Linked DNA regions of Homo sapiens: regions 1 and 2 are each linked to region 3. Evidence: promoter capture Hi-C in 16 types of primary human blood cells and fetal thymus (Javierre and others, 2016). All regions are on one chromosome and are shown on one strand. Each heading gives the region's core, a stretch centred on a gene start or on the middle of the fragment in contact. The rest is flanking DNA. Distances are from core to core; before and after follow the strand shown. Region 1 overlaps PFKFB1 (6-phosphofructo-2-kinase/fructose-2,6-biphosphatase 1). Region 2 holds the start of RRAGB (Ras related GTP binding B). Region 3 holds the start of ZXDA (zinc finger X-linked duplicated A).

Evidence for each region. Contacts are between HindIII fragments. The CHiCAGO score rates a contact against its expected background, and 5 or more counts as called.
Region 1: a contact is called between a fragment that was not itself captured here and the fragment with the promoter of ZXDA in region 3, in 1 of 17 cell types (M2 macrophages). The highest score is 5.2, in M2 macrophages.
Region 2: the fragment with the promoter of RRAGB here is called in contact with the fragment with the promoter of ZXDA in region 3 in 1 of 17 cell types (activated CD4 T cells); the score reaches 6.1 in activated CD4 T cells.

Annotation. Positions count from the first base shown.
Region 1 is chrX:54,987,605-54,990,757 of GRCh38, forward strand. The region is part of intron 1 of PFKFB1 (6-phosphofructo-2-kinase/fructose-2,6-biphosphatase 1); the gene reads right to left. Among named protein-coding and RNA genes, the nearest start is that of PFKFB1, 5.0 kb to the right of the region's middle. The HindIII fragment of the contact is 2,774 bases long and covers 57-2,830 here.
Region 2 is chrX:55,716,154-55,719,302 of GRCh38, forward strand. It overlaps RRAGB (Ras related GTP binding B), which reads left to right and starts at 1,596. Exons shown (of 10, transcript NM_006064.5): 1 at 1,596-2,266. The coding sequence starts at 2,175. RefSeq lists enhancers at 1,725-1,924, 2,085-2,214. The HindIII fragment of the contact is 6,209 bases long and covers 1-3,149 here.
Region 3 is chrX:57,908,962-57,912,267 of GRCh38, forward strand. ZXDA (zinc finger X-linked duplicated A) reads right to left here and starts at 1,497. Exons shown (of 1, transcript NM_007156.5): 1 at 1-1,497. The coding sequence starts at 1,459. RefSeq lists a silencer at 665-924. The HindIII fragment of the contact is 7,022 bases long and covers 1-3,306 here.

The DNA of each region.
Region 1 (3,153 bases), core at 194-2,693, 2.9 Mb before region 3:
ATATTATACTTATACTTTTTACATCACAATCAAGTTAGATTTATTATAGGAATGCAAGCTTGATTTAACCTTTGAAAATCAATTAATGCAACAGATCACATCAATAGAATTAAGGACAAAAAAACCAAATGATCATCATAATAGGCACAGATAAAGCATTTGGGAAATTAAATACCCCTTCATGATAAAACCAACAACAAATTAAAACTAGAAGGAAAGGCCCTAAACCTAATAAAAGACACCAATGAAAAACCCACAGTGAATATCACACTTAATGGTGAAAGATTGAATAGTTTCTCCCATGCCGCCTGCCAAGATCAGTAACAACAGAAGGATGTCTGTTTTCATCTCATCTTTTCAACATTCTAGTAGAGGTTATAGCCAAGGTAATTAGGTAAGAAAAAGAAAATAAAAGGCATCTGGATTGGAAAGGAAGAGATGAAATTATTTCTATTTGCAGATAACATAATCTTGTATATAGAAAATCCCAAGGAATGCACTAAAAAACACCATTGGACCTAATAAATGAGTCCAGCAATGTTGCAGAATATAAGATCAATATATAAAAATCAATTACATTTCTATAAAGTAGCCATGAGCAAACAAAATGAAATTAAGTAAAACAATTTTATTTACAATAGCATCAAAACAATAAAATGCTTAAAAGAACACTTTAAAAAATGTAAAACACTCTGAAAACTGCAAAACATTGGTGAATATAATTAAAGACCTAAGTAAATGCAACAACATCTCATGTTCAGGGACCTAAAACTTATTATTGTTAAGATGGTAATATTCCCTAACTAATCTATAGATTAAATGCAGCTTCTGTCAAAGTTTCAGCTTAATTCTTTGCAGAAATTAATAAATTGGTCTTAAAATTTATATGGAAATGCAAAGGACCTAGAATAGCCAAAACAATCATAAAAACAATCTGAAAAAGACCAAAATTAGAAGACATACTTCCCAATTTCAAAATTACAATTAAACTACAATAATCAAGAATGTGTGGTACTGGTATAAGGGTAGAGATACATATAAACAAATGGAATAGAACTGAGAGCCCAGAAGTAAACCCTTCAACTTATAGTCACCTGATTTTCATCAAGGGTGCCAAGACAATTAAGTAGGGGAAAGAAGAGTCTTTTCAAAAAATGCTGCTAGGACAACTGGATAGCCACATGCAAAAGAACGAAGCTGGATTCCCATCTCACACCACATGCAAATATTAACTCAGAATAAATTGAAAAACCTAAATGTAAGAGCCAAGACTATAAAACTCTTAGAAAAAAGCCTAGGCATATATCTTTGTGACTTTGCATGCTACAACATGGATTAACCTTGAAAACATGCCCAAAGAAACGAGCCAGATACAAAAGGCCACATATTGTATGATTCCCCTTATATAAAATGTCCAGAATAGGCAAATTCATTGAGACTGAAAGTAGATTAGTGGTTGCCAGGGGCTAAGGGGAGAGGGTCATCTGGAGTGAGTCTAGAGTATGGAATTCCTTTTTGGCATAAAGAAAATGTCCTGGAATTAGTGGTGATGGTTACACAACTATGTGAATATACTCAAAACCACTGTATACTTCAAAATGGTGAATTTTATGGTATGTGAATTATATCTCTATCAAAAACAATTTTTTAAATGTAGGAAAACACATACCAGGCAAATATTAAGCTAAATAAAGCTAATGTAGGTATATTAATATGAGAAAAAAGATTGATTATAGGGCAAAAACATCAATGATACCAAATTACCAGGTATTACCAGAGTTAATAATTTCCTTACATGGTGATAAAATATTCAATTCACAAGGAAGATATAGCAATTCTAAATTTGTTTGTAACTACGAACTTTCAAGATTGACAGAATTACAAGGAAACATTAACAAATTTTCCATATCAACAGGCAGCCAAAACCCCAGAAGAATATAGAACATTTGAGCCAGATTAACAAACACAACTTAATCGAGGTATATAGTACACTAAACACAACTGTAAAACGCACATTCTTTTCAAGTGCTCTTGGAACATTTACCAGATTGTCCATAAGTTGGTCCATAAAGCAAGTCTCAACAGATTTCAAAGAACTGAAATAATACAAAGTTTGTTCTCTGACCAGAATGGAATTAAAATAGAAATGACAAGAGCACTGATCTATCAAAACAGAAGCTGGTCCAAGGGCTGGCACCAAGTACTGGAGGCCTCCTGCTGTGGTAGGCATTAATCCTTTAGTTGCTAGATGATAATCAGTAGGTCCTGGCTATCCTGGGAAAGGAATTGAGGTGGCCAGGGTAACTGGGTAAGTGTTGGAGAGACTAAAAAAGCCTGGGAGAGTGCCTATTTATAAAATGGACTAGAAATATTCTGAAAATTCATATGGCCATACGATTGTGAATCTGTGGAATATCAGCCCTGTTTAGTAGGCCAATTATCTCATTGGACACTTAAATTAGAAAAGAAGAAAGTCTGAAAATGAATGAGCTGAGCAGCAGGCAACTCTATGAGTTAAAAAAGAACAACAGAATAAATCCAAAGAAAGTAGGAGAAACAGAATAATGATGAAAAAATAGTTAAATAGAAAATAAAGATAAAAAAGGATCAAAAAGTCAAAAGTTGATTATTTTAGAATTATAAAAGTGTCAAACTTATAGCAAGATTGATCAAGAGAAAAAAGGTGCAAATAAATAATATTATAATGAAAGAGAAGCTATAACTACAAATGCAACAGAGATAAAAAAGATACAAAGATAAGAACTTTACACAAAATAAATTTGAAAACTATGTGAAGTAGAAAAATTCATAGAAAACCATAACTTAGGAAAGCTTAAGAAAGCTAACTTTAGTGGAAATAGCAAACTGAAAGGACTCTATAACTGATAAAAGAGATTGTATCAGTTAAAATGTTAAAGGAGACACCAGGTCCAGATATTTTACCTGGAAATGCTGCCAGGTAAAATATTTGAGGAATGGCTAGTTCTGCAGACAACCTCTGTCAGAGGACAGAATGAAAGGAAATAGTTCCCACCTGATTTTATGAGGTTAGTGTAATCTTGACACTCTTGGAAAAATCACAGGCCAATCTCTTTCCTGAGCAAAATGCTAAAATCCTAAACAAAAAATTAGTGAAAGAAATTCAGAAGTTTT
Region 2 (3,149 bases), core at 346-2,845, 2.2 Mb before region 3:
GCCCTAGCCACGGACCCGCCTTTCTCTGCCCAGCACTTTCCTGCCCCGCTCCTGTATCATAAGCTGGTGCATCTGAATGCAGGGTCTGCAAAACATATCAAACAGTGATCTTAGGTTTTAAAACAGTGATGTTATTCCTGGGAGCAATTTGGGGAGGTTCAGACTCTTGCAGCTGGAGGCTGCATGGCCCCTGAATTGTAATTTCTAATCTTGTAATCTTGTGGCTAATTTGTTAGTCCTGCAAAGGCCGACTGGTTCCCAGGTAAGAAGGTTTTTTTGTTTTTTTGTTTTTTTTTAGTGGGGGGCAGCGGGAGGGAGAAAGGGCTATTATCAATTTTGTATCAGAGTTAAACTATAAACTAAATTCCTTCCCAAGGTTAGTTCGGCCTACGCCCAGGAATGAACAAGGACACCTTAAAGGTTAGATGTAAGATGGAGTCGGTGAGGTCTGATCTCTTTCACTGTCATAATTTCCTCAGTTACAGTTTTTGCAAAGGCAGTTTCAATAATAGTACTCTGTTTCCTGCAGTTTCTCTTCCTTCCTTCCCTTTTTTTCTTATCAAAGTAATATATGTACACACTTACGTGTAAATAATACATGTAGTATATCATATATTAATTATAAATAATATAATTAAACTACACATTTATTTAAAATAACATATTTATAACATATTATTTAAGTATTAGTTGATTATATTAAATATAATTAAATGTCATATTAATCTTATTATTATATATCATTTATACATTATAGAAATATATATAGCACAGAAGGGCTTCAGATAAAAAATAATAGTCCCCTGACATATCACGTCCTATCCCCTACCCCATTCTCCAGAAGGAACATCTTTGAACCCCTCTGGGCATTTTTCCTGGTGTGCATATCCCTACCAGTAGTCTTTCTGTTCTCAATTCTAGACTTCACTTATTTACAGATGGGGTCTCGCTATGTTGGCCAGGTTGGTCTTGAACTCCTGGCCTCAAGTGATCCTCCCTCCCCAGCCTCCCAAAGTGCTGGGATTAAAGGCATGACCCACCACTCCCAGCCCTAGACTTTATTTATTGACTTCTTACTATGGTACTTCCTTCACTTCCTGTTTTAAACAAGTGGGAAGATGAATGTGTGTGTTAAAATTCCTGATGAATCCCTGGTTTCAGCAATAACGATAATTTATACAGTATTTGCTATGTGGAAGACACAGTTCTAAGCGCTTTGGATGTATTAATCATTTAATTACAAACTCGATTGCAAGAATTAACAATAAAAAGCAGGAAGGCAAAGACAATGCTCGGTCTTCCCAGTCAAAAACCATTACCGGTAACCAGCAGTAAAAAAGAGAAGCTCAGAGGCACTGAAATTGCAACCGGCTCCTTTAATTCTCCATAGCGGATGGGTGGGGCCAGGCCCACCCACATTAGAGAGGCTGAAGGCTCCCAGCGCCCTACCCCGCCCGAGGGGCGGAGCCTGAGCCAAGGCCACGTGATGATGACAGACGGCACTCTGGCTTTCCTGGAGCTGTCTCTATGGTATTCTTCCCAGCCCACCCGTCCCTTTGGTAGCGGCAGTCACGTGACAGACTCCGGGGTAAGGCAGATGCCCACGTGATCCTGGCCTGCAGTTGGGTGGCTGCGGTGAGATACCTGGGTTCCTGAAGGGCGGGTGGTTAGGTCGTAACTACTGCCCCCGCCGGCTGACTCTCCGAGCGGCCGGGCTCGGAAGCCACGAGCCAGCTGAGGCGTTCTCCGCTTAGTGCCTACGGCATGGGTCAGCTCTTTCTGCCACCTCCGCCTTCGCGGTCCTCACCTCTTTGCGGGTGAAGTTACCTTTGGGTTTCCAGACCTTGGGGGCCTGAGGCCCAAACTCGGGACGAACCCCTAACCCACCTCTCTTTTCCTGTCATTCTCCAACTCTTACTTTGTACCACGGAATCACTTGGCCTTAAAGCTAGCCAGCTCGGCCGTGCCTTGAGGCCAGGTTCGAGAGATAAAGGTAACCGTGGGGAAAGCGGCCCCCCAGTGGACAAAGGCGGAGGCAAGAATAGAGCAGGCCTGAGGGCCATAGGCGATGAGAATAGGCAGTTGAGGGGTGAAAAAGAAAACAAACAAACAACAACAACAAACCCTGAAGAGTACTGAAGATTTAGAAGGGACTGGAAAGGACTTGTTGCGCAATGGAAGAATCTGACTCTGAGAAAACGACGGAGAAAGAAAATCTGGGGCCGAGAATGGATCCACCACTAGGGGAACCGGAAGGATCGCTTGGGTGGGTGAAGGGTATTTGTGAAACCTGGAAGTGGGGGTGTTCAAATTGAAGAGAGTATTGTGAATTAGAACACTTCTCCCCACCCCGCACCATGATAAATTGCTTTGATTTACCAGTAATGTTGATTGGGATTATGCTTTGGACGACAGGATAAACTGGAAAGCGAATTGGTGCTAACTGATCAGAAACAACCCTTGGGAAGGGGCTGATATTCCTGGTGGTGGTGCTGGGGGAGTGTTCTAATTAAAGCAGTTATGAGTTGCTTTGAATTATCAGTAAAGGAGATTTGCTGTCACCAGGTTGGGGATGGAAAGACTAGAAAGAAGATTTGCATTTCCAGGTCAGAGCTTGAGGGTGTTTTCTGTGCCAATTTGTACCTGAATTTGAGACTTACATCTACTTTGTGTCTGTGATGAGTGAAATAGGGCTTGGAAGGACAGCTGAAGGACTAAAAAGATACTTCCAGATTTTAAAATTAGGAGGCTGAATGTTTTTTATACATAGAAGATATTCAATACTCAGTCCTCAAGTAGAGGATATCAATATATTCTGTTTTTTTAGAAATAGAAGATATTGTTTGATTAAAGCAGCTGTGTTGCTTTGATTAAGATGATGAAAAATTGAATCTTGAATTTTAATGGCTCATTTGTATTCCTAAATAAATCTTCCTAGGAGTTCTCTCTTGAACTTCTAATTAGGAGATAGAGAGTATACACACAGTTTTATAATTTAGGAAAATGGGACCTCTATTCATCTGAGGTCCCACACACACAGCTGTACTCAGCCGTTGTACTAAACATGCTCTTTTGTACCTCCATGTTTATTTATACTTCATTAATTTCAATTTCTAAGGGAATTGGATCATGGAAACTGTTTTTTGGTT
Region 3 (3,306 bases), core at 247-2,746:
AGCCTTCCACAGGGCACATGAACCTCCGGTCATCGTCGTGCTTCCTTTTGTGCCTTAAGAGTTTGGACATGCTGGTGAAGTTCCAGCCACAGCCATCAAAGTCACAAAGGAAAGGTCTCTCGCCGGTGTGACTCCGCAGGTGAATTTTCAGCCTACAAGCCTTGTCATATTGCTTGCTGCAGCCAGGGAAAGAGCAGGAAAACAGTTCCTGTTCCCTGAAATGGGCGCGGTTATGGGAAAACAGAGCACTCACTGTGATAAATGTCTTCTTGCAGCCAGAAAACGCGCACTGGTAAGGCCTCTCGGGTTCGAAGTGGCTGCGCTGGTGGGCGCCGAGTTTGGCCTGCGTGGGGAAGCTCTCCTCGCACACCTCACATTTGAACGAGTTCTCCTGCTCATGGCCCTTCATGTGCGCCTTGAGGTTGTACACGGTGGTGAAGCTCTTGCCACAGCCCTCCGCAGGGCAGCCGAAGGGCCGCAGTTTATCGTGCGACTGCAGGTGCCTCTTGAGCTTGTAAGAGGTGGTGAAGGTCCAGCCGCAGCCACCCAGGGGGCATTTGAAGGGCCTCTGGCCCTGGCTGCTGCTGTGCGTCAGCAGGTGCATCTTCAGCTGGTGCTTCTTGGCGAAGGTTTGCCCGCACAGCGCCTCGGGGCACAGGTACAGCACCACGCCTGGACCAGAGCCCAGCAGTCCGCGGGGGCCCAGGGCGGCGGCCAGGCCCTCCGCCTCCTCCTGGGGCGCCGGAGCAGGCGCGGGTTCTGCGGGCTCGGCTAGCAGGAGGTCGGACCGCAGCTCTGGGCAGTCACCCGGGTGCGCGGCTTGCGGGAACCCAGCTTGGGGGGCGATCAGACACCTGGGCTGCTGGGCAGGAGCGGCCCCTGGCTCCCAGGCGTGTGGTGGGGGCGTGGCCAGGGTGAGGACGCCGTTCTCAAAGCGCAACAGCAGGTCCTGGTTGTGGATAGTGACTGTGCCCGCGAAGGCCGCGGCGGGGCCGGGGGCGGAGATCGGGGCCGGAGTGGGAACCGCGGACAGGCAGTGGGGGCCCTGCGCAGAGCAGCCCGCGGGGTTCGCGCCGCTCTCGTCCCCCTGGAGCCCCGGGCCCGCCTTGGCCTCCTCCCTCAACACAGGCCCTGCGGCCTGACCGGAGCCCGCGGTCTCCACGTCGCCACCCACCGGGTCAAGCAGCACCAGGAAGAAGTCGTCGCCGCCGCCGCTAGGTTGATGGGGCCTCGGCGCGAACAGGCTTGGGCCAGGGCCCCGTGATGCCGTGCTGGCCTCCTCGCGCCGCCGCCCGGGCCCGCCATCTTGGGGGCCCCGGGGCAGCAGGAGGCGGCGCGTGGGGACCTGGCCAGCCGGCGAGTCAGGGCCTCGGTGGACTCGGCCGCCACCCGCGGGGATACCGCCGCCGCCGCCGCCCTGTAGTGTCCCGCGAGCCGGGAGCAGCTTCGGGATTTCCATCTCTGCGTCCGAGAGGCTCGGCTGGAACCAGAGCCGAGGAGGAGGCGCGATCCCGCCCCCTGCCGCGGGCCTGAACACGTTCCTGAAAGGGGAAAAAAAAATGTGCAATGCGCAGAAACTGGCCCTATCAGATATTAAAATGTATTCAACGCCACAGTGATTTAAATATTCTGGTACTGGGTCTCTGGAACGGAATAGAAAGCCCAGAGGTAGAGCCTGGTATGCATAAATATATTCTACAATTAATATAAGTAATTAAGGAGGTCTTCTGAAGTAATGGGGAAATGACGACATCTTGTTCAATAATGCTGTGGAACACCTAGGTATCTATCTGGTAAAAGCAATTTTAATCCGTGACTCATTGTATATACCCAAATAAACACACGCCAGCCCCTCCCAGTGTTAGACATGTTGCTTCATACTTTTTGTGTGTTAAAATTTGTTTATTGGCTGGCTACCTGGCTGGATTGATGGATGAAAGACAATTCCTGAGAGAAAAAACTGTCTCTGTGTCAGCATTAAACCACCATAGTGCTGGCATTTCTGCGGAAATTGCCCTTCCCCTTCCCACCTCTGCGCGGGACAACTTCCATACTCACAATTGTCTTGAGCAAAGTGCTCGGTACAATTTGCCACATAGTTCAATTTTTGTCTGCTGATAACAGAGATTAGAATGAGTGAGAGATGCGGCCAAAACAGATTAGCACTCTTCAGCCTACAAATGCAAAGTCTGGAGGATGAAACAATTTATACTGAAATCTGGAAAAAAACCCAACCCGCCCCTGGCTTCTCCCTATACAGTGCACAACCTAAACCAACTCTTTGCCCTTCGACGATCGGTTGTACCATGATAAACTTCATGTCCACTCTCATAGCACAATGAGGGCATTGCTCAGTTTATTCTGCATTCTCCAGCACATTCTCTGGGCAGGAGTTCCAGTTAAATGTGTTAAGGTTAAACCCTCAGTCACTCAATGGACTCTGCCAAGTAATGTGCACAGACGATCTTGTCCACTCGCCCCGGTGTACCTGCTCACATTTAAGTGTGGTGGCCCAGTCTTGCTGGGCCTTTGGTGCCTAATGTCCTTATTAATGATGACGACAATCCTCCAATTTGTCTGTCACGAATGAGTTTGGAATTGACACAAATATAGGGTGAAATATCTGAGATGAGAAGGCTTAGAGTGATGAACAGATTGGTGGTGGTGGGGGTGGGGGGGTGTAACCTGTTGTTTAAATACTCCCAGCTCTCTCGCCCTCTTTTAATAACAGTGGACACTTGGTCTCTTGAAAATCAAGTTTTTCAACCATAACTATTCGAACCTCATCAAAATTTCTACTCCACATACTTTTCTTTCTATTACTTTTTCTGGAGGAAGCACTTTTCAAATCTGAAATTAGAAGAGTGCATATAACGTATCTGTATAGTTTAGATTATTTTACAAAAGCAGACACCTACTTAACCAGGACCAAGGTCAAGCAATAGACCACTGCCAACCTCCCAGAATACAGCTGCTGTACTCCTTCCAGTCACAAACCACACTCTCCTATATAGATATAGTAATTGCTCCGACTTTGTAATAATCATTTCACTGCTTTCCTTTATAGCTTTATCACTTTTGTACGCATCCCTAAACAATAGAGTTGATATGAAGTTGTATAAGTGGAATCATACGGCATGCTTCCTTTTATAGCTTGCTTTTTTCACTCTGTATTATACTTGAGAGACTCGTCCATGTTGTTCATAATAGCTATAAGTAAGTAGATCCTTTGTCTCCATCGACTGTCTTTCCAGCATATGCTTATAGCAAAGTGATTATTGTATGATTATTCCACTCCATTCTACA